2 separate regions of the Homo sapiens genome follow, and region 2 is linked to region 1. The links are contacts of gene promoters, found by promoter capture Hi-C in blood cells and fetal thymus (Javierre and others, 2016). All regions are on one chromosome and are shown on one strand. The core of a region is centred on a gene start or on the middle of the fragment in contact, and the rest is flanking DNA. Distances in the headings are between cores, read along the strand shown. Region 1 holds the start of SC5D (sterol-C5-desaturase). Region 2 overlaps SORL1 (sortilin related receptor 1).

Region 1 (7,245 bases), core at 2,768-5,267:
CATGAAGGCATATAGATGTGCAACTTCTGTAAACTGATCAGAACCAGCCCATGGGTCAGTGGTATTCTTATCAGGAGAAAGTTATTAAAACCAGTCTTTATCCAATGAAAGCCGTAGTTGTGGCTTGTGGAATAGGGGGTCAGTTAGCGTCTGGTGGAGCTGCAAATTGTTTTAATATTGCTTATCTGAAGGCCAGTGTTTGTTTAGCTGCTAGAGAAAAAGAAAAATCTTGTGACAGTTAGAACATAGTTTATTCTTTACGTGTAGGGTACATGACTTAACCCTCGCCTGGCACGACCTTAGGTCCTATTTATAATTTGGTATTGTATCGCCACAAAGAATCTGTTCTGCCAGTTTTATGATTTCTGTTTTAACATCAATGCCGGTCAGTCGTGTCTAAAAAGGGAGGGGGTATAATGAGGCCTGTCTGACCTCATCTCATCATGGCTGGGAACTAAGTTTTTAAGGCTTTTCTGGAATCCCTTTGGCCAAGAGGTGGTCTGTTCAGTCTGCTGGGGGGTTTAAGATTTTATTTGTAGTTTAAAGTATCATACTATAAATTAAAATAGAATCCATGGGGCCAGGTTAAGGAATAAACACTTTCTCTTCCTGTAATCTACTTTTGGACACTTGTGCATCCACCTTTTTCATGAAGATTCTCTTCTCCCTAAAAAATAAATTCATGCAAACAGATGCTTGTGAGCCAGTGGCCCAACGAGTTCATCAGAAACATTCACTCTAAATAGCTTGGTGCCTAGTGTTCTTAGTACAGTCCAGTGTGATGTAATGAAGAGAGGTTGATACATTACTGATGCATTCAGTGACAACATTTCATTAAGAAGGCTGTTCTGTTTTACACATCTGAAAACCAGTTAGAAAGTGACATGATTTGGATGTTTCCTCCCCTCCAAATCACGTGGTGAAATGCGACCTCCAATGTTGGAGGTGGACTGAGTGGGAGGTGTTTGGGTGTTGGGGGCAGATCCCTCATGAATGTCCTGGTGCTGTCCTCACAGTAAAGTGAGTTCTCACTCTATGAGTTCACATGAGATCTGGCTGTTTAAAAGAGCCTGAGTTTAAAAGAGAGAGCCTCCTCCCTCTCTCTTGCTCCCTCTCTTCATGCGATAGGCCTGCTCCCCCTTTGCCTTCCACCAGGATTGTAAGCTTCCTGAGGTCCTCTCACCAGAACCAGATACCAGCACCACACTTCCTGTACAGCCTGCAAAACTGTGAGCCAAAATAAACCTCTTTTCTTTGTAAATTACCCAGTATCAGGTATTCCTTTATAGCAATGCAAACGGACGAATGCAGAAAGAAAGGGTCTTCATTTCCTAACTTCAGAAACTACAGTCTTTGTAGTTTCCTTTGTAGTACCTTTGTAAAGACAAAGGTCTTTAAACAGTTTAGTGCTTAGTGTTCTCATTAAAGTATAATGTTATATAATGAACGTGGGCTGATAAATTATTGATGCATTGAAAGGCAACATTTCATTGAAAAAAATTCAAACTCAATCTCAGTTTAGAATCTTCCAAGTGAATGAGGACTTCTAACTCTGTTCAGGTCAAATGTAGCCCTCTCAGAGAAACTGACTGACCATGCTGTCTGAAGTTAACAGCTTCCGTTAATTTTGATTCTCTTACCCCATTTTCTTTTTCTTCATAGCACTGTCCGACATTGTATTATATATCTATTTATTTATTATCAGTTTTCTGTCTCCTTACTAGTGTGTAAGCTTCATTAGAGCAGACTTTGTTTTGATTATCAGTATATCTCCTGTGCATATGACAGTGCCTGACACTTATCACCATTACATAATGATTTATTGAGTAAATAAATTGAGTAATTTAATGATTAAATGGTTTGTTTCCATGTTCATGTTCCATCCAGACACATAGGCAGGTATTGTGGCTTATCTCTGAATTCCTTGGTACTGGCTGGTTGGTACCATAGACCCTTGCAAACAATGAATAAATAAATTACCCTGATCCATCAGTGTGCCTGGATAGAAAAGACATGTAGGAATGCTGCACCCCAGGATGTGCTATTAATACACTTATACACCACGGAATACTATGCAGCCATAAAAAAAAGAATGAGTTCATGTCTTTTGCAGGGACATGGATGAAGCCGGAAGCCATCATTCTCAGCAAAATAACACAGAACAAAAAACCAAACACCACATATTCTCATTGAGTATGTGGGAGTTGTTCAACTGTGGGAGTTGAACAATGAGAACACATGGACACAGGGAGGGAAACATCACACACCGGGGCCTGTCAGGGGGTGGAGGGCAAGGGGAGGGAGAACATTAGGACAAATAACTAATGCATGCAGGGCTTAAAACCTAGATGACGGGTTGGAAGGTGCAGCAAGCCACCATGGCACATGTATACCTATGTAACAAACCTGCACGTTCTGCACATGTATCCCAGAACTTAAATAATAATTAAAAAATACACTTAAATTTATTTTTAAACAAGATTGTTCTCTTGAGGTTAACTTATTACTACTTTGAGTTGTCAGGAGTGATTGCAAATTTCTTGGGAATCCCTAAGTCACCAAGAATAAAGACCACTTGTAATAGCTAAGGCATATTCAACAATAAAATTCTAGAGATTCAGGATATTTGATGTTTGCTTATAACATTTCACTTTTGAGCTTTTATTCGTTTAATAAATGTTTTATCATCTATGCTCAATAACATTTTAAAGTGTCCATTCAAATCATTTCATTGGGCAAAACAATGTTCCTTCCCTAATTTCCCTCATCAGAATAGCCATTTTGTCTCTGTGCTCAGCCTATACCACCAATTACTGTTTATTTCCTGTCCTTGTAATAAGCAACATAGTTATTTATACATGCCCATTTCTCCCACAGCACATAAGCTTTTTAAGGTTGGGAACCATGTCTTTGTCATTATTGTAACATCTCTTTCCATTCCCGGTGTTCAGTACGATGTGTTAAACGAAGTAGACACTCAAAACTTTTTAAAATTTATTTTTATTTATATAATGAGTCTTTTTTAAAAAAACCACCTACACTATTTTAAATTCATTTGAACTTTGTCCAGTATCCTATGTACATTTGAAGTTTAACTACCGGAAAAGTCTTTTGAAGGCAGATCGAATCATGTTATTTTTTTCCCTTAAAAATCCCTCATTTCTGTCATGTATTCCCCATATTATTTATGTAATAGGTAAAGTGGCCCAGTTTGCCACTTTGAAGTTGCTGAGCTGGTATCACAAGTCAGTCCCCTCTGTTTTAATCTCTGTTTAAGGAAAGTCACTCTGAAACGACAGATCTTTTGGTTCCTTATTTCTGCTTTCCTCCGTCCTCTTCTGCCTGTGAAGCCACCCTCCTCTGCTCAGCTCTGTTTCAGGAAATCGGAGCTGCTCGATTCATGTGTAGCAAATCAAAGCCAATTAGATCTGCGTTAACCTTGGTTTTCAACAACTTGTATCGTGAAAAGGTTTCTGTCCATGTTTACCCTCATCTTGTCACCATTTAGACCCCTACATACACCGGCTCGCGGAGCCTCCAGCCATTCAGCGCTAGAAAATCGGGGGGACTACGTCTTAAAACCTTGAGCACCTGTTTGGGAACATCTGCACCTCCTCCCTTGAGGGAGAAAACGACCCAGACATTCGCGTCAAAGGAAGTGTCGTCTATTTCCCTCAACGCAGGGCACCCGTTCTAGGAATGTTTGTATAAACACCGTAAACCTGCCTGGTACCACCATGAATGACACAAGAGCTAGTTTAAAAAGAAAGCAAAGAAACAAACGCAAAACCCGAAACCGCATCCTCCACCGCAAAGGTACTCGGATGGGGCGCCCGCCCTCCCCTTAGTCAGAGGACAAAGGGGGCGTGGCCGAGCGCGCGGCGCCCACGTGACCGCGGAGAGCTGCGCGCAGGCCCTTCGCGCGATCTGCCGTCATATCAGCTTATGGCGCCGGTCGCTGATTGGCTGGCCGCTCCAGCCTCCCGGCCCGCTTGCTGGCTGCCCAGCTGCTAGGACAGTTTGCAGAGCAGTGGCGTGCGGAGCGGCGGCGGACCACCTCCAGGTGGGGACGGTGGGTGGGCGGGGAAGGAAGCGGAATACACCTGAGCGGGCTGGGCCGGGGGGCGATGGAATAAAAGAAGATGGAGAGACTTCAGCGCCTGGGACTCGGGTGGGCGAGGCGGAAGGTGTCCTCGCAGCACGGCTTTTCTCCGCGCCGCGGTTGGTTAGCGAGTGCCCTCTGGGTGCTAGGCGTTGGGCGGATGGTAGGATCGCGGTAGCATACGGATCCGAGTCCTGCGCCGAGTGAGAGGAGAGGCTGGCAGGTAGCCTGGCATCCCGAAGACTGGCGGCGAGGGCTGGGCCGGGGGACCTCGGGGCCTGGAGGGCTGCGCCACCTGGGAGTCCGGGCGGAGGGGCCTTCCGCTCGCGCTGGGAGGGATCGCGGGGCCGATAGGGAGGCCTGGACTTGAAGGAGCCGACCGTGGACGGGCTTAAAGAAAATGCAGTGTTTGATGTTGGGTGTTGCAGATCTCTTACTCAAGGGAATTCTGGTCTGGCTGCTGAACACGAATGCTTTACTTTTCCCTTCGTTCTGGGAGGGTTTTTTTCTTTTAAAGGCCAGAAGAATCAGGCTGAAGAACTGGTCGGTATCAGAACTCCTGACCATTGCAAGCCTCTGTTGCTGCGGCGTAATTAGAATGAAGGGACAGCAATCTGGGGCTGAGGAGACTGAAAGGAAAAGGGAAATAATCTGTTCCTTTTGCATCATAAAAGGAAAAATAATGTATACTGACATCCCTGTGTTACAGCAGAGTAGATTTGGAGGTGGTGTAAGTGAAGAAAACAAGACCTCAGTACATAGAGTTTCCAAACTGGAAAGTTTGTGGCAGCTCGGTACTTTTAGAGGAAACCCTCTGGAAGTTATTTGTCTTTATATCACTATCATTTTTTAAAGTTTCTAATGATTGATACCTAGTAAATAATAACTGATCCTTGATCATTTACAGAGTGCTTTTCCATTCGTTATGTAATGTAATTAATTAGCATGGGGTGGTACTCAGAATCCCTCATCTGCATATAAAACATCTTGAGAGATAACATAACGTGGTAGCAAAGAGAAAGGTTGTGGAATGTACATCCCAGCTGGTTTTTTCTGTTATTGTTGCTTGCTACTGAACAAGTTATTTAAATACTCTGACCTCAGTTTCCCTATCTATAAAGTGGGGAGCATAGAAGTACCTATCTCATAGAGGTATAGGGATTAGATGAGGTTATACAAAAATAATACCTGGTTCTCAATAAATATTAGCTATCATTTTCTATACTTTTAAAGTAGGGCAAAAAGATAATGGTAGACTGAGTTGTTCTAAGCCTAATATTGTTATTATAACTGAGTTTTAAGAAGAAGTTTCTTTAATTCTGCAAGGACAAAGTATTTAAGTTTCTGTTTGAAGCAGTGGTACTTAATTTAGGGTCCTTGGGACCCCTAACTTCAGGGCTTATAACCCCTTAAAATTATATGAGCTTGTAGAGGCACTGAACATTTTTAAAAATTCAGGAGTTGACGACTTGAAGTAGTGGTGAAGAGGCTATAGAACTTGGCAGAAGTTCACGTACTTTGCAACTAGATTGTGTGTATTTGAATCCTAGCTCCAGCATTTATTTACTCTTATGACCCTATGCAAGTTACTTAAAATTTCTGTGCCCAGCTTCTTCATCTATAAAATAATACTAGTACCTACCTTTGAGGCTTCTTGAAAGGGAAAATTAGTTAATATATTTAAAATATTTATATTACCTAGTATATATTAAATATTACTATCAACTACTGTCAGTTATTTTTCAAACAAAAATCAAGTGGCACCTATTTTATCTTCTATTGAAGTAATTTTGACGCATTTTTGACGGCCTTAACAGTGATAATCATATAGATGCTATTTTATTGAGTACCTTTCTTGGGTCAAATGTCAAAAGTCTACTTAGTCTCTAAACCTCACAGCAATCAAACATGTTTGTGTTCTTTTTGGTTGCACGATACTATTCTAGGTATTGTATTGAAGTAGGGCCACATGGCACTGTGGGGAACATGTAGATTGGCTCATCAGCTGTTACCAACCTTTAGTGATATAGCAATATCCTTTTCAATTATTAAATGTTTATGTTATCTGATATTACGTAGTACCCTGTCCCTGCTACACCACCTCCCTTGGCAGTCTTCACCCCTATAACTTCAACTACTACCTGTATACTAACCAGGCTCGCTTTTGAACTTCACATTTATATTTACATGTGGCCTATTGCTTATATCTAAGATAGAAGATGAGCCACAGATAATTAGGTTTTAAGATCTACATTGAACCCGTTTTGAACCCCAGATATCTGAGACAGGTCTCAGTCAATTTAGGAAGTTTATTTTGCCAAGGTTAAGGATTCACCCGTGACACAGCCTCAGGAAGCCCTGACAATATGTGCCCAAGGTGGTCGGGGACACAGTTTGCTTTTATACATTTTAGGGAGACATGAGACATCAATCAATATGTGTAAGAAGTACATTGGTTGGGTCTGGTAAGGCGGGACAACTCACAGTGGGGGCTTCCAGGTTAGAAGCAGATAAGAGACAAAGGTTGCATTATTTTGAGTCCTTGATTAGCCTTCCACTGAATGCACACATTTCGTCTGGCTCAGTGAATCTGCATGTTTACATAAACAATAGGGCAGAGGAAGCAATCAGAAATCCATTTGTGTCAGGTGAGCCTCAGAGGGATGACTTTGAGTCCTGTCTGTCCTTTATCCACAAAGGAATTTTCTGAGGGCAAATTGTGAGGGAGGGATGTAGCTTCTCATCCTTGTAGCTGTCTTATTTAGGAATAAAGCGGGAGGCAGGTTTGCCTAACATAGTTCCCAGCCTGACTTTTCTCTTAGCTTAGTGATTTTGGAGTCCCAAGATTTATTTTCTGTTCACACCATCATTCCTTACCCACCCCCTATTCCTACCCTACCCAAATCTGCTAGCTCTGCCAGTATTCCCTATTTCAATTACAATGACATCACCATCTACTTAGACCAGCTAAAGTCTCACAGTCATCCTAGATTTCTCTCTCTTTCACTTCCCAGCAAACGTGGGTTATCCAAATCCTGTGGGTGTTTTTACTTGCGCGAAATCTCTGCTGGCTAGTCTTAACAGCCACTGCCCGAGGTCAGGCTATCATTTTCTCTGGGTTATTCTACCACAGGAACAACCAA
Region 2 (7,245 bases), core at 1,269-3,768, 260 kb after region 1:
CCAGACCAGCTTGAGACTGGAGAGGTCCTAATCCCTGAAAAGATCATAGTGCCCTCTCTCTCCCCTCTTCCTATCCCCAATATGTACTTCAAAATAAAATTAAGACTAAGTAAAAAATAGGTAAGAAAGTCTAACAAATCTTTGGGGTTTTTTTTTTTTTCATGACATTTAGGCTTAAAAACAAATAACATTAAAATTTTCTCTCTTGCCCTACATTTCCCCAACCCTCACCAAAAAAAAAAAAAAAAAAAAAAAAAAAATCACACACACAAGAAAAGAAATGGAGCTTGGTGTGCCCTCCTGGGTAAACTGGCCTGGGACCTGCTGGTCTACCATGCCCACCCCATCTGCCTTGCTGGAACCTGCTGTATGCTCACCCTGCTTGTATGTGGAGTGTTTTTATTGTAGACCAGTAAAACCACCTGCTCTGCCCCTTGTGGAGTTGGGTTGCAGGCCAAATGAGATCGTGGGGTGATGACCCTCTGAAATGGTAAGGGGTATATGGATGTCAGCTGTTCCCCGCTCCACCCCTCCCAATTGTTTCTCTGCTTGCTGTAGCTGCTGGAAGGCAGCCAGCCCAACTATATGGCTCTTGGAGATGTTTGATGGCATTGGACTATGGCACTGAGAAGGAAAATGGTCCCAAGATGGACGTCAGGAAATGAGATGAGAATGAGCAAGCTTATAGTATCTTTCCATTAGTTCAGGTACTGGTTGACAACTGTGTTTGAACACCAGGTTATTTCTGATAGTCCTTTTAGACCACACTGGGAAGCCCAGCTATTGGCCCATGTTTCCTGATTTCCATGGTAGATTCTTTTATGTTCTTATATTTCTCGACATTGCCAAGTCATACAGCTTTCACATTCTTGACTGCAACCCCTAGTAAATAATACATTTTCTCTTATGACCCTGTACTTACATATGTACGTGTAGATACATACACACATATAATTAAAACACAAGTTTTAGGAGACAACATTGACTTTTAAATGTATGATGGGGCCTTTTGCAATCTTTTGCACTTTTTTGGGAGGGGAAGAATCTAGTCTTGGGCCTCCCAAGTACTCTCAGAGTCCACTAGGTCATGACCTATGGTCAAAGAAAGCTGCCCAGGAAGAGTGCTTTGCTATTGGAGGCAAATAAGTAATTAGCTAATGCTTTATCTGGTTCCTAAAAAGATTTAAAGTGGCCGTTCAGTAATAACGAACTGAGGTAATGAAAGAGGCACATTTGATACAGTGACAAAACTGCTGCCTTTTGAACAATTCTTACAAACTATTAAATGTGGATTATGATATAATGCACACAAATCACTCTCTGTGTATCTGTTAATACTTTTTGTGTCAGAAATGTTTAATGAATATTTGGAGTTTTTCTTTTTGTTTTTTGTTTTTCTGAGACAGAGTCTCACTCTGTCACCCATGCTGGAGTGCAGTGGTGCAATCTTGGCTCACTGCAACCTCTGCCTCCCAAGTTCAAGCCATTCTCTTGCCTCAGCCTCCAGAGTAGCTGGGATTACAGGTGCGTGCCACCATGCCCAACTGATTTTTGTATTTTTAGTAGAGACGGGGTTTTGCCATGTTGCCCAGGCTGGTCTAGAACTCCTGACCTCAAGTGAGCCACCCGCCTCAGCCTCCCAAAATGCTGGGATTACAGGCGTGAGCTACCATGCCGGACCTAAATATTTGTTGAATTGAATAGAGCAAATAAATGTGTTCTGGTAGAGCACATGAACGTGGAATATATGTTCTGTTCTATAATTCTTTGAATATATTCTGTAATTCATTGAATTATAGAATTTACAGGTTTGGAAGGGCCTTAGAACATTCATAGTACAGTCACCTCGTTTTAGAATCGTCTTCGACTGAGGCCTCCTGCTTCCTACTCCAGGATGCTGCCCTTCAAGCTGGGAGGTTTGGCAGATGTGACTCCAGATCACAAGAGGTCTCATGAACCTAACTACTGTATCTCAAAGTACAGGGTGACTTAGCTAGTATGTGGATATACTCTTAAATAACATTGAACCCCTAGTCAAATTTTTTCTTTTTTTCTGAGACAGGGGCTTGCTCTGTTGCCCAGGCTGGAGTGCAGTGGCGCAATCACGGCTCACTACAGCCTTGACCTCCTGGGCTCAAATGATTCTCCCACCTCAGCCTCCCAAGTAGCTGGGACCACAGGTGTGCAGCACCATACCTGGCTATTTTTTTTTATTCTTTTTTGTAGAGACAGGGTCTTACCATGTTGCCCATGTTGGTCTGGAGCTCCTGGGCTTAAACAATATGTCTGCCTTGGCCTCCCAAAGTGTTGGGATTACAGGCGTGAACCACCATGCCCGGCCCCAAATAATTTTTTAAAAAGGTTATTCTTTTAAAATTCCTCTTTTACTTCTTCAGATTCTGTCAAAAAGAACGTCTCATTGGTTGCTAGTAACTGTAACATTTGCCTAATCCCTTTTAACAGAGAGGGCAGGTCCAGAGTCTTAAATTGGGAACTGGATCTGGCTAAAATTTAATACTGTTTTGATTTGGCATGATGATTTTTTTTTTTTTTGGTCTATTTATGGCATGTGATTGTGTTTTTCCAACTGTGGTTCTGATATAAATCTTCTTTTGAAGATGTATTTTATATAAAAAGTAAATATTCTTTAAAGGGACATGTTAAATAACTTATAATAAAAGTGAAAAGTAGTAAGGTAAAGTCAGCAGAATTGGTACAGGAATGCCTGAAATGTATAAAACCGTGGCCTTAACAAAGCCCAATTGCCTTTTTAGTGACTTCGGTTTCAAGATGAGTGAAGATTTGTCATTAGAGGTTTGTGTTCCAGATCCGGAATTTTCTGGAAAGTCATACTCCCCTCCTGTGCCTTGCCCTGTGGGTTCTACTTACAGGAGAACGAGAGGGTATGTATCACAGAGGTTGCCCTGTCAGGTTCTCAGCGGTCCGCACATGGAGCGAGAGAGCATAGAGGACCGTCTGGATTGCTCTACACTCGAAATTCTAGAATTCCAAGTTAACAGCCTGCAAGTAGTTTGGGCAACATTATAAATTATGGTATTTGTAAACTCTCCTACCTCCACATTGCAAGTCTGTAAGCATCCCTGAAACTCTAGGAATATCTTAAGTCATCAACTTCAGCAGGGAAACATCTTCAGAGGAATGTATTCAAGAGATATATTTAAAAATCTTGGCCAGGACAGTGCCCTAAATTGTCTGGGCCTGCCTAGTCTAATTATAAGGAGAACTGACTCAGAACTACGAACATCCTCTTTCTAGTTCTAAAGAGAAATGAGTGGATGGACTCTACTGGCCGTGGGTAGTAAGTGTATTCCCAGCTGGGATGCCTTTGTGGCTATTCTTCCATGTTTCTGACCTCTTGCTCTTGGGGTGGGGTGACAGCTACCGGAAGATTTCTGGGGACACTTGTAGCGGAGGAGATGTTGAAGCGCGACTGGAAGGAGAGCTGGTCCCCTGTCCCCTGGCAGGTAAGAGAGGTGGTTTCTTCCCTTTCATTTCTTGAGACATGGTTGAAGCAGTATCACGATCTCACCCAAGTCCGGGCTTGTGGCTCCTTTAATTGAGTGGAGAAAAACAATGGCCGTCACAAGCATCACAGGGCTTCCTCTTTTCCCTAAGGTTGGTTTCCACACTGAACTTGTACATAGCCATACCCGTTTTTAGGAATGGAAAGTACTTTGTGTCAGCTCAGTTTCTTTGAGGGAAATCCCTTTGTTAATTGAAAAATATTTATTCAGCATCCACTGGGGTAGAAAGATCCCCACAGGCTTTTGTGTGTTCCTTAATCTGTTTGTCAAAGTTGAGTATAAAGAGGTGTGTGACTTCTTAGGAAGTAGCTAAGTAGTCTATGTTAATTTTATAATAAAACTAACTGTAACTAAAATTTTAATGGAATTTTATAGATTTCAGTGTACTTTTTATGTGTTGCCAGTTTAACCCTTTTAACAACTCAGGGAAGCAGATATTATCAATTTTGTTTTTTACTTTTTCACGAGGAAGCATGTTCAGAGGAGGTTAAATGGCTTAAGGTCACACATCTAGTAAGTGACAAAGTTGAAATTCAGACTCTAAGCCCCATGCTCTTCATTGGACATTGCCCAAATGGCAAATAAATATCATTCTCACTATTTTAGATAATCATTATGCATGCTAATTAAGAAAAACTTCTCTGAAATGATTCACATGCTATAAAGGTATAGTGTGTTCTAAAACACGTTTCTGCTAGATTTAGTGGTGATGTAACATGGGGTCTTTACCACAGAGACATGAAATTATGATACTTTGAAAAATAATCTCTTAGTTGCTTTTCTTCACTCTGTTTCCAGTTCTTATTCATTTAAAGCTTCTTTATTCCCTCTGTGCCCTCTTTCCTGCCCATTACCTCTTGGTGAAGGTAAATGGCTGGAGTTAACTTCCGTCTGTGGTGGGTGGTGGTGTCTTACGTGGACAGCCATAAGCACCGAATGAATCATGAAAGAAGTGTGTGGTCTCCACAGGCAGGGCAGGGCAGCCCTCTCTTTTGCTCACTGCCGCCAGCTTGCCCTGGTGTTTTTCATGCTAAGTTCGTTAGTCCCTTAATTTAATCTTTCATCATTACCAGAGTAATTAACATACCTCACTATGGAGGCTTGAAAAGAACCACCACTTCAGCAAATTCCAACAAATGAGCAGATAATATTCAAATATTTCCCTCACAAGAGCTGTTATTGATGAGGGCGTGGGTTAGTAGGGTTTGAGTGATTGCTCTTGAGGGGCTGGAGTGCCTACTTTTGTAATAAATATTTCTGAAGATAATTCAGCAAGGGACAAAACAGTTTGTTTAAAGCCATCTAAACTGGCAGGAAAGCTATTTTCTCTTCTACTGGAAGATAGAACAGGGAACGAAGTGGAGAAATCTCATTCCATTGTGGGCCACCTCCTATGTAAAAGAGAGAAAAAAAAAGGCATGGAATAGGAGGCAGGGATATACCAGGAAAGAAAAAGATGCTTTCACAGGACTAATGGGGGCCGTAATATCTTTGCAAAGATGAGGTAATCTGGGCATCTGGAAGGATTTTTTAAATGCAAGAATTTTTCTTCCTTTACAATTACTATGAAAACACACATTCCTTGGCCAGGACCAGCCAAGAATTCCATTCCTTTTCCAGGTTAAGCATTGCGCGCTGGAATGCCGCATGCTGCTCTGAACATAATCCTAAAACACGTATTTCTGGATTCAGGTTCTACTTTATGGGTATTAGTTTCTTAGAGGAAAAAAAAGCCCAGAGTGACAGAATGAGGTTTATAGATGCTGGAGAGAGATGTGGGGCAAAAGCCTTGCTGCTGCAAATGTAGCTTTCATGTCCCTATACCTTAGCTGGCCCCCTCCCTGGGAATGACAGCGGGAAGGTTTCCTTGACAACCAAAAGGGGAGGTAGGTTACCATGTGATGGTAACATAGATACTTCTAAAGTGACCTGGAACCAAAGGAAAAGAAGGAAAACTTACCTTATTAAAAATTGTAGGTAGATTTATTTTTTGATGCATTATCTATATTACAGCTTTTATAAAGAAGGTGAGTGGTACATGTTAAGTCACTGAGTGTATGGAATCAGGAAGTGGGCAGGAATGGCTAACCCAGGCATGCAGCAAAAGAATTCCGATTTGCATCTTGGTCCCATATGCAACACACTGTCAAGATGCACACTTTAGACACAGATGCTGGTGTGCTGCTTGTGTCCACTCCTGGGGAAGAATCTGGATGTTTCCCAAGCCGTTCCCTAAGTGGACAAGACAGTGTACTGGGTCTTCCTATTTCCAGTTGTCTGACATTAGGTAAGTATCTTCAGCACTCAGGACCTTCATTTCTACATCTTAAAAATCATCCACGGTAGCGTCTGTATCATAACAGGCAGCACAGTGTAGTGGTTAAAGCATAGACTCTGGATCCAGAGTGCCTGGGTTCCAATCTTGGTTCTGCCACTTGCTAGTTGTGTGACCTTGGGTGAGTTACTTAACCTCTCTGGTCTCAGTTTTCTCATTTGTAAAATTTGGTTAACAAGAGTTCTACCATCAGGCAGTTGTTGTGGGTCTTAAACAATACCCGATACGTAGTAAGCACATTATACACAATATGTACACAATTTATATTTGTTGAGTAGAAACAGAATTTTTGTGGTGATTATGTTGTGGAACATTTTGTAAATAGCCAAGAACAAATGCATTATTAGTATTATTTTGGAGATCTAAGAGGTTCATAGAATTGCCATATGGTGTTGTGAACAATATGAATAAGTGAGCAAATTGATTAGAGAGCTTAGTTACAAAGCTTCAGTGACTAATGGTCTCTCGTCAACAAGATGATGATGCTGTGGTGATACAGTCACGTGAGGAGGGAGAACAGGGCGATTGGTGTAATTAGGTTGGCAAGTGTGACTTGAAGACTGGCAGGCTTAGCCCAGAAGTATGGTTGTTGAAGCATGCATATTGGGAGATTTAGAATAAAGAAAAACATAACAAGTAAAACACTTGCAGATGAAGAAACAGATTCACTGGAGTTTAAGTAACTTGCCTGAGGCAGAAATGTGATTCCATTACACACCTCCTGAGTCTTGATTTCTGTGCTCTTCACTTGGTCCACACCACATGCCAATGAATTTGAGGTTTGTGTATGAGAAACAAATAGGTCAGATGTGCTAGGACCTCTTCAGCATCCCCTGGGTCCAACCTCCCACGTGTCTTGTGTGTCTGGCAGAAGAGAACGAGTTCATTCTGTATGCTGTGAGGAAATCCATCTACCGCTATGACCTGGCCTCGGGAGCCACCGAGCAGTTGCCTCTCACCGGGCTACGGGCAGCAGTGGCCCTGGACTTTGACTATGAGCACAACTGTTTGTATTGGTCCGACCTGGCCTTGGACGTCATCCAGGTGAGTCAGCGCTTGGTCTGACTGTGGGAGCTGTGCATCGTGACTGCCCTGTCCTGATAAGCTGCATGCAGAATGGCCTATGGAAATGGGCAGTTAGAAGTTTGTAAGTGTTACTCATCTCAGGGCTGACAGGTGAAAGTTTCCAGTCTTCTGTGTTAGTATTTTTCTTTCTCTGTCTTCATCTGTTCATATAGGAAGGATAAAGAAAGCCCTAAATCCACAGACCTGCTTGAAAGTGAGGTCTTGCTTTTCCTGCTGGGAAGGTGTTGGGACTAGTAATGTAGGATGATTAGTTGCCCCCCTATTGTGCCAACTGCCTCT

Evidence for each region. The method cuts DNA at HindIII sites, captures the fragments that hold promoters and counts their contacts. A CHiCAGO score of 5 or more calls a contact.
Region 2: a contact is called between a fragment that was not itself captured here and the fragment with the promoter of SC5D in region 1, in 9 of 17 cell types (non-activated CD4 T cells, neutrophils, activated CD4 T cells and 6 more). The highest score is 13.1, in non-activated CD4 T cells.

Annotation. Positions count from the first base shown.
Region 1 is chr11:121,288,754-121,295,998 of GRCh38, forward strand. SC5D (sterol-C5-desaturase) reads left to right here and starts at 4,018. Exons shown (of 5, transcript NM_006918.5): 1 at 4,018-4,063. RefSeq lists enhancers at 3,760-3,809, 6,523-7,064, 7,065-7,245 and a silencer at 3,980-4,029. The HindIII fragment of the contact is 7,130 bases long and covers 2,884-7,245 here.
Region 2 is chr11:121,547,186-121,554,430 of GRCh38, forward strand. It overlaps SORL1 (sortilin related receptor 1), which reads left to right. Exons shown (of 48, transcript NM_003105.6): 15 at 2,775-2,903; 16 at 3,400-3,485; 17 at 6,752-6,924. Among named protein-coding and RNA genes, the nearest start is that of SORL1-AS1, 98 kb to the left of the region's middle. RefSeq lists enhancers at 3,827-5,026, 6,583-7,180. The HindIII fragment of the contact is 3,679 bases long and covers 680-4,358 here.